Regions from separate parts of the Homo sapiens genome. Here regions 1 and 3 are each linked to region 2. Evidence: promoter capture Hi-C in 16 types of primary human blood cells and fetal thymus (Javierre and others, 2016). All regions are on one chromosome and are shown on one strand. The core of a region is centred on a gene start or on the middle of the fragment in contact, and the rest is flanking DNA. Distances in the headings are between cores, read along the strand shown. Region 1 overlaps LOC105375760 (a long non-coding RNA gene). Region 2 holds the start of OC90 (otoconin 90). Region 3 overlaps ADCY8 (adenylate cyclase 8).

Region 1 (3,170 bases), core at 115-2,614, 1.0 Mb after region 2:
TGTAAAAAGGAAAATGTAAGAGAAATTGGGAGATACAGTCCTGAAACTTTTGAAGTGATCCTCTTTAGAATAACTTCTCAACATCGGTATCCATATTTTCCAGAAAATATCATCTTCTATCTGTACCATCAAGGGTGCTGCATCCTTTCATTTCTTAAATGGCATTTGCAATTCTCTCCTGGAATCTCTCCCAAGCAGTTCACCACCATTCTTCAAGTTTTCATCTGGGCACTTCCTGTATTTTACCAGATCACATCAACAGAATATTTTTTTAGACAACCTCATGGAGATATAATGTCAAATGGTAAATTTGTGGTCCTTTGTCAATTTGAGGGCCTGGAGAAAAGGGGCTTCCTATGTTGGAACCCCCATTCAGGGCCATCACTTCACTCCAAGTCATCTTACCATGGAAACTCTTAGATAAGTTTAGTTGGGAACTTAGGCTCTGGGCACATGGAGAACTCATGACCAAATCCTGCCTTGGATCCATCAGCCTCACCAAGCCAAAGAACTCTGCTCTGTCTTAGATGACCTCCTTCTGGGTTCTATGCCATGAACTCTATTTATTGGCAACCTTCCTGGGATTTGTAAGAAGTACACTCAAACCTAATTAATCAATCTGATGAATAGTATGCACAGTCATTAAAGAATCACCACAGCTTTAATGAAGACAAAAGAGCACCAGATGTCCCTTGGATCAGACCTTGGGCTATTCTGTCTCATCCCTCCCTATTCTTTCTTTCCTGGCCTGACTCCTCCCAGCCTTCAATTCGTTTTCATCAGACCTTCTGGTGTCTCTTGTGTCCTTTCTCCTGGGATTTGGAGGCAGGCACACCAACTTTAAAGCTTCTGCTGTTACTGGATCCCATTCTTGAATCATCCAAATAAATCACTGCGTGAGCTTCACGAGGCTTGCTTTCCTCAACTGTATTGTGGGAAGAATGATATCTACCCTGCAGGATTGCTGTGCAGATTAAATACAATAAAGAATTTGAAAGCGCAGGGTTCACACTGAGTAACTGCACGGTACCATCCTTCCTTCTCACTCTTTTGCCTTTCTCAGTCGTTTCTTCCGTTCTTCCTTCCTCTTCCCCTTTTATATCTTGGTCTTTTCAAAACCTGCTCCAACTTTTATCCCCCCATCCCCTTCCTCTCTCCTTCTCTTTCCCTCTTCCTTTCTTTATTTCTTTCCTCTCTCCTTTTCTCTCCTCTTCCAGGCTACCTCTTTTCCTCCACCTCTTCTTTTACCAACTAAAGTTAACACGAACACAGTAGATCTGAGAGTTCTCTGGATGTCTAGCAAGACTGGCAAGTTTTTAAAAGACTAAAGCACAAGAATAGTAATTGAAGGGGCAAAGAGATAATGGTGTTTGTGTTTGTTGCTATCTTTCTTTTAATATATTTGCTAGTGAGGAATATACAATAAAATGGGAGACTGAGCAGGCCAGGAGAAAAGAAAGGGACCAGCCTCTCCTATTTGATATCTCCTATTTTATATGTTGTATTAATTGTCAACACAGGAAAATAGATATGGCTCACTTTGAAAAGTTTCAAATATTTGAGCACTTTAAATCTGTTTGCAGTCACATACATAATTTGACTGAGCTATAAGGAAAATTAAAGGGTGTTTTTGGTTTTTATGTTTCTGGATTTTTTGCAACACAGTTTAACTGTTACCTGAACATTGGTTCTTCTCTTTGCCTGAACTATAGTCCCAAATAGATTTCTCTTATCACCATTGTCAACCTGGAAGGGTAAAACAGTCACATCAATCCTGTTTCTCATTTCTGCAGCTTCCCTTGCAGTTTTACATGGTCATGTGTTCCAGTTCCAATGACATCTAAGTAGAGTCTGCCAAGGAGGTGGCTTGGGGAAAAGCTTTTACTTCCTAATGAAAACAGGATAGATGTTCAAGGCTGGAAGGCAGAGTGCTGCCCTCATCCCTTCCTTCCTGACTTGAATGCAGATGTGATGACTTGTCCTACAGTAGCCATCTTAAGACCACGAGACCCATAAAAATTACCACCCAAGTACCTTCGAGACTCTGACTCTGCTTGCAACCACCTACCTAGAGAAAACTAAACAACCATCTAGTTAAGCTAGTTATTCAGATATACTGCAACTTGTAGCCAAAAATGTTACTAGTCAATAGTCTCCTGGTCTTTGGAGAAAAGTTAGAGTCCAACCGTCTCAGATCTAAGTGGGGAAGTTACACCAGATACATCCAAATGCATTCAAAGTATCTTCCTACGGTTCTTATAAGGATAAAATCAGATAATGCAGGTGAAGTACTAGCACTACACCTGATAAATAGTAGGTGCCTAAATTCCTGGTCTCATTTTCCTTAGGAGGGATCACTCAATGAAGAAGCATCTCAATTAGAGCCCAGTGAAACATTCCCAATGATGTAGGCTCTCATTTCCTTATTTTGTTTGCTCTGGTCTAGCTCATAAGTATAAATTTTCTCCTAATCTGGCTAACTCTGCTTCTATGGTTAGCCAACATCAGAGTCATTATTCAGTTAGTTAGTTATCAAGACTGGGTCATTTTTTACTCATTCATTAAAAACTGTTTACTGAGCTTCTGCTGTTACCAAGCACTGGGGAAAGAATGACAAATAAGAGAGAATGGTGCTTGTCTTGGAAGAGCTTACACTCTAATCAGAGAAGACAAAAAAAAAAAAAAAGCTAACAACTAAGTAAGATAATTGCAGATTGTAAGATGTGCTATACAGGAAATAAACAAGTTTGTTTGGAAAATTCTGGGAGCAAGGAACTTAAATGCAATGGTCAAGGATCACTTCTCTGAGGTGACTTCTGAGTGACACCACAAAATGGCAGCTAAGCAATGATCCAGAAAAGCACTCTAGACAAAGAGAACACCAAGCAACAGTGAAGGGCAGCTTGTCCTTTCCACCTTTGCTTCTTAGCTAATACTTGCACTTTAGTGCCTATTTATCATTCAAAGTCTGGTGAAAATCTCTTCTCCTGCTATATCCACAGCATGCATCCATGTGCACGTAAACTAATTAATGAACATTCATTTGACCATTAAGTAATTAATTAATTGTAAGTGTAAAATATTACTAACTCCAACAGGAAGCAAGTTAACAATTTTAAACAAAGAAGTGATATTATCACTTTTACATGCTGGCTCCTGCCCCAAGTCAC
Region 2 (3,065 bases), core at 214-2,713:
AAGATTAAGATACTCTGTTGTAAGCTATGGGAAAAAATGATCCTTCTCAAAACCCCATGAAATGTCTCGAACAAGATACCTATGTAGATTGTTATGCCTTTGTATTGCTCAGGCATAATAACAATCTCAGTTATGCTCTTGAGCATAATAACAATCTCAGCTATGCTCTTGAGATGCTGAAAAGATGGATTTTGCTGCACTGAGCCATAGATGCCCACGGGCTTAGTCATTTTAGAGATGGTGGGTCTTTGGTGCTAATGAGAAAATATTACAGACAATGCATCTTCATTCCTCAAATCACATGAGATGCTGAACAATAGTTAATGATCTACAAACACAAGCCTCAATGAATGAGAGTAATTACTTATTTGAAGAAGCCCTTCAATGGGTTCTTCCATAGAGGCTCAATTGTGCCCTGATTTAATCGTTTGAGGAGTCCTGCTTCTTCAGGAGGTGGCCATAGAGTGAGCAACTCAGAGGGTTCACAGCCAGGCTAACCTGCATTCCAGAATGCTTCCATTACACGTGAGCTTCTACAATGCCTCAACCTCAACGACACCATTTTTTCTCATCTGTAAAGTGGAGCTAATTAATCCTTGCTCCTAGGATTATGAAAGCAGTAATGGAAGGGCTGCTGCAGGGATGATGAGGGCAAAATCCTATAAAACACTTGTGGTACATTACACGTACTCAATAAATGCCAGTTCTCCTTTCAAAATCAGGAAAGAAAACCCTTCACAAGGCGATATGAGGAAGTGACAAAAAGAACTAGGACTTAATGAGCCCCCATACCACACACTATATATGGCTTTCTTCAGCCTCGAAATCTTAGTAGGATTAAGCCCATTTAACAGATGTGGAAGCTAAAGCTGAGCAGTGACAAACTCAAGGTCACACTGCTACTCAGTAGCAGGGCTGGCAGAGGAACCTTGGGTGTCTGATTATAAAGCCCCACCTCACCCTACCCCACAGCTTGGGCAGAAAAGCCCTAAAGGAAAGAGGCATCAAATTCCGAGATCTGAGGCCAAGAACATATAAGAAGAATCACGCTAGAAATCCTCTTGCTAAAGAATGAACTAGACCAGACAAAGCCAGCCCTTTATCTTGCAGGAGAGCCCACATGACTTTCATCAGTCTTTCATCCCCCGAGAGTTCCCATGATGACCCTGAGACATAATCCATGGGCCTCCTAGCCTTTGAGGTGAGGTGGGGTAGAACAGGGAACCCATTGTTCTCTAATTAGAGCCTGAGGTCTCCTCTGAGGCTCAAGATGGGGCTTCTTAATATGGAGCCTTCACCTGTTCCAAGCTATAGTATTATGATGCCTCCTCCCTTCAGAGGCAGCCCACCTGCCAACATTCATGAAAGGCTTCCTTCTTGATGTGAGGAGTGGGGAGAGGCATCACATGGCTAAGGGTCTTTCCTTGGGGTATAAAGGACTCAGTCTGCACCTGTTCAAACCCTAGCATCATTCATCCAGCTGCACTCCAGTGGAGCCTTCACGGTAGGCATCTGTTATTCCTGATGGTTGGGGAGACAGAGAGCAGGGGAGGGAGGGAGGGAGGAAGACAGCAAGTAAAGGAGGGAAATGAATGGGAGAAGAGAAGAAGGGAGGGAGAAAGAGAAGGAGGGGGAGAGGGAGGGATGGAGGAAAAGAGTGAGGGAGGGAGGGAAATGGTTGGGAGATGGAAAGAGGCAGAAAGGGTAGGAGGAAGGAGGGGAGGGAAGAAAAGTAGGAGAAATTGATGAAGGAAGAAAAGGAGGGAGAAAGAGAGGGTAGAAGGGAGGGAGGGAGAGAGGGAAAGAGGGAGGAAGGGAGAGAAGAATGGAGGGGAAATGAGGAGATAAATGAATGGAGGATAAGGTGGTAGGGGATGCTCTCAGGGCTGTCTGAGACCTGGATGTTGCTCCAGGATATAGCTGAAAACCCAAATTGCTCTGAGTCGATCTGTGAAAAGATGCAATGCCAGACAGAGAGCACCTGGCAAATTTACCCGGGGGAAAAATCCACCACTTCACATTAGTGAGGATCCTACATAGCCCTGGGCAATGACCCCGCCCACGGCACCTGGTGTGGAAACACAATCAGCATTAATTATGGGCAGTCCTCACTGAGCACTGAGCAAGTGCCGGAGATGGTGTTCTACCTTTATAAGACTCATCAGATTTAACCCTCATGATTCCCTGATGAAAAAACACCATTATATGCATTTCGCTGCCCAGGAAAATGAGTTCCAGGCATCTTCAGTGCCTGGCTCAGGGCACTCGACAAGCAAAAGGCAGAGCCTGAACTCCCTGACCCCAGCCCAGGTCTGTCCGACCAGCAAGGCCTTGGGCTCAGACACTGGCTATGCAGCCATGAGACCGGCCATTGGGAGACAGCTAGGGGAGCCGGGACTCCAAACCTGGCATGCAGACCAAGGCGAGGCTTCGGGAGCCTTCTCAGGCCCACAAGGACAGCACTGACCCATGAGGCCACGACAGCCCCAGAGACTTCCTTGGGCAAATTAGGAGAAGGAGGTCTTTCCTCCAGGTAGACACAGCCCCACAGCCAAGGGCGCCTGACTTGGCCAACAGGAGGATACTGGATTTCAGAAGCAGCCCCACACCATCCCACCCACGTACCCTAATGTGCACGTACCCCAGATTCGGGTCATCCTCACTGTTGCCCAGGGCTGACCACGTGCTTCTAACTGGCACCTTCTAGCTGGCACTGACTTTCCTTCTTTGTGCGCAGCAAGGAAGCTGTCACCTGCTGTGTTTCACCACACCCTAGCAAGAAGCTGGCCACCCTAAGGGTCTTCCCAAGCAAGTACTACCGATAATTGTGACAGTTACGCAGTGAGTCATCACTGGAATGCTTAGTTTGTCTCAAAGGACCGGCCTAGCAGTTTAGGGTATTGGAGCCAGAACAAGTCAGACTGGCCCACCTGGGTCTGGTCATTGCCAGAGCGCCCCCTTCTGGGCAAGGGCCACCCTGGCAAGTGACTCACCCTCTGAGCCCAGTTTCCTGGTCTAGAAAGTGAGACGTCTTGATAGCCAAAGTCTTGGAGGGTTGTCACCAG
Region 3 (3,193 bases), core at 659-3,158, 1.1 Mb after region 2:
TCCAACTTAGTCTTAGAGTTATATATGTCATGTCTTCATATCTCCTCTGCTGGATTACAAGTTCCTTGATCCATGGAGGAATTGTGATTTTCCCCCTATAATATCTATCCTGATATTTAAACATTCACTAACACTGTATCAAATGAGTAAAGTAATAATTAACTTAAGGAACATTTCCAATGAGCATTTCTCTTTCCCCAAATATGTGATTATTATCAACAGATATTGAAGAATCATTTTCTTCTCTCTTTAGTAAATTAGAGGCTAGTTTTTGATGAATTTTCATATCCAACAGAGAATGTTCTTGTTGAACTCTATAATCCATTAACTCTTCTTTCTTCATTCTCACTGTCCAACTGAATTTGCAATTTAGATTTATGGGAGCCATGTCTTTTGTATATTAATTACAGGGATGTAAATATTTCATCTTTACAACCCCTGATTCCCCAACAGCTCAAAGCATTTTAGTTTTCACACAATTATTCCAGAATCTCTTTGGAATATGCAAGGGACATATGATGCCTTGTGCTGACTTCTATGGTAATGTAATTAATATTTCATTATAGTCATTTTCAGTTTCTCAGCCAAGCAGACTGCAAGCATGGTGAAGGCAGAGTGAAGCTTCTCCACTGCTCTCCCCAGTGCAGAGCACAGGGCCTGCCACTAACTCATTCCTTACTACACGTTTGCTGAAGAACAGTTTGTCAGATGCATGAATGAGTAGTGGAAGATATTTCACAATAGATTAGATGGAATCATGGAAAAGATTATGACTCGAGAGTCAGCCCCATGTGATCCACTGCACCCAAGAAAAGGATGAACTCTAAATCAGATTCTGCAACACAGAGCCTGAAAAGGAGAATTCACTAATGAATCCAGATGCCTGTGTGCACATCTGGGTGCTGCCACTTACTTGCTGTGTGTCCTAGGACAAGTACCTAACCTCTCTGTGCCTCAATTTACACATCTGTGGAATAGTGGTAATAAATATCCCTATCTCATTAATTGTTATGAGGATTAAATCACATAATTCATGTGCAAATCTTGAAACATAGTAGGTGCCCAATAAGAGCTCTCACTGGCAGTGGTGTAGTCCATATTTATTGCTTCTCTCCTTTAGGCATTTTCTTTAATTGTGAAATATATACATTCCACAGAAAGCAAAATCCTCAGACTACCAGAGACTGAATTGATTTTAAATAAGTAAAGGGAGAAACCAATAGAGATGTTTGGAGTATGAAAAGAGGAAAAAAGCAAAGAAGGTTGGATTACACCTTATGGATGATTCAAAAAACAAGAGACCCACTGAATGAATGAGTATTACAAGTATTGTCCAAGTAAGCTCTGTTGATTCTGATATTTTCTGTTTTTCGAGTATAAGTAAGAAAGGTTGGATTGATCATTGTTCTTCTCATGAGCAGAAAATTGACACAAGCTTACAGTTAAATGCTGGTGTGAAAAGTGACAATTCCATTTATTAAAGGCTCTGAGGAGGAGGTTGCAAACACCATGCGCTCACACCCGACCCGGGCAGTTTCTCCAGGCAATGTGAGGAGATATAGTAGTAAAGGGGTGGAGACTTCCAGCCTCTGATCAATTTCTGTTTCGGAGCACTGGCCTGGATGGTCATGTTTTCTTGATAGCTGAGATGCAGCAGAAGCAGAATACAGGGTTGATGTCCTGCGCGATGGGACAGGTTGGCCTTGAGCAAGGTAATCTCTGAGCTTCAGTCTCCTCACTTGTAAAACCATTTTAATAATTCCTACCAAGGTTGTTTTGATATAAAATGAGCTCCATGTAAAGGTAATTTTTAACTGTAAACACACTACAAATGTAAATTATTTTTAAAATTTTTTAAATATCATATTTGAGGAGGATATATAATCTCCTGAGAATGCTGCAAGCAAAGGGCTTCTTATTTGAATTTTAATTATCTTTCAACTTCCAAATTAGCTCCTCCAATTGATATTAAAATATGATCTTCTTGAATAAATGTGAAAAGCTCAGTTCCACATCAAGATAAAATATAAATTCAATATTTTTTAAATTTCAGTAGATGAGTGCATAAAATATATATCAATGAATAAGAAATGACTTCAGAATTATAAAAATTGAATTAGAAACTAAGAATTCGCTATGTAGATGATGGTGTTCAAATAACCTCTGAAGCATGTATTATGGCATAGGGATAATCAGGTATCTATGGAAACTGTCGCATATTAATACTTGAAATAGGCAATAATTTGCTTTATCTGTCCACATGCAGTCATGGGTTAGGTAGTTATCCAAGGTGTTAGCATCTTCCGACACCTACAATAATGAAATACAGTTTGCTTTATCACAAGTGCCCTTATCATCAAGCCAATGATGGTTAAGCTTCAAAGGCCTTCACTCGCAAGCCCCTTCTAAGGCCTTCAGAGGGGCCCTAGCAAGTTCGCAGTTATGATTTTCACAGTTTTTCTTAAAGAGTATTCTCTTACCCCACCCCCAAGTTATTTAAGTCTCAGGACCCACAAAACCTGGATCAATCACTACTGCTATCCCCTTGGAGTAGACAGAATGTTCTTGGAGGGGTGGTGAGGAAACTTACAATGTAAAGGTCTTTTCCACACCACCATTTGCAGTTTTCCAAAAGATAGGTGGTGGTTTTTTTTAGCATACTGAAGTAATATTTTAGTAGCTTTTATAAAATATCCTGCCCCCATCACAAATTATAGCATGCATTTTAAGGGATTTTGAAGTTACTATAGTATAAAAGTAATTTTCAGAATTGCGGGCAGTGTCACTGGGAATTGTCCAATAGCTAACAACACCCCAATCTATCTGTGACTTCTGATCTTTCAATGTTAGAATTCTTTCAGCAGAAGAATTTCTGAGAGACTGTTAACTGTATTTATAGACAACTTAATGGCTACATAGACAATAGAGTTAGACAGGCCTGGTTTGGAACACCAGCTTTGCATCTCATTAGCTGTATAAAATTGAGCAAAGAATGTAACTTTACGTGCTTCAGCTTTCTTATCTATTACATTGGAATAATCCAGCCTGCCTCACTGAATCACTGTGACACTTATTTGAAATAAATGCTTGTGGTTTAACTAATTTAGGGACTGACACCAACTGGTACCCTTTCCCCATCCCCCGTGTCACTCTTAGTGTCCCCAGAGTTCAAGGTTCTTGCTTCTACAATGGA

What was found. The method cuts DNA at HindIII sites, captures the fragments that hold promoters and counts their contacts. A CHiCAGO score of 5 or more calls a contact.
Region 1: a fragment that was not itself captured here is called in contact with the fragment with the promoter of OC90 in region 2 in 2 of 17 cell types (endothelial precursors and M0 macrophages); the score reaches 6.7 in endothelial precursors.
Region 3: a fragment that was not itself captured here is called in contact with the fragment with the promoter of OC90 in region 2 in 1 of 17 cell types (M1 macrophages); the score reaches 5.0 in M1 macrophages.

The regions. Positions count from the first base shown.
Region 1 is chr8:131,050,065-131,053,234 of GRCh38, reverse strand. The region is part of intron 1 of LOC105375760 (a long non-coding RNA gene); the gene reads right to left. Among named protein-coding and RNA genes, the nearest start is that of ADCY8, 11 kb to the right of the region's middle. The HindIII fragment of the contact is 1,032 bases long and covers 849-1,880 here.
Region 2 is chr8:132,057,780-132,060,844 of GRCh38, reverse strand. OC90 (otoconin 90) reads left to right here and starts at 1,463. Exons shown (of 14, transcript NM_001080399.3): 1 at 1,463-1,504. RefSeq lists enhancers at 1,816-2,392, 2,393-2,970. The HindIII fragment of the contact is 6,980 bases long and covers 1-3,065 here.
Region 3 is chr8:130,975,481-130,978,673 of GRCh38, reverse strand. The region is part of intron 2 of ADCY8 (adenylate cyclase 8); the gene reads left to right. Among named protein-coding and RNA genes, the nearest start is that of ADCY8, 64 kb to the left of the region's middle. The HindIII fragment of the contact is 941 bases long and covers 1,438-2,378 here.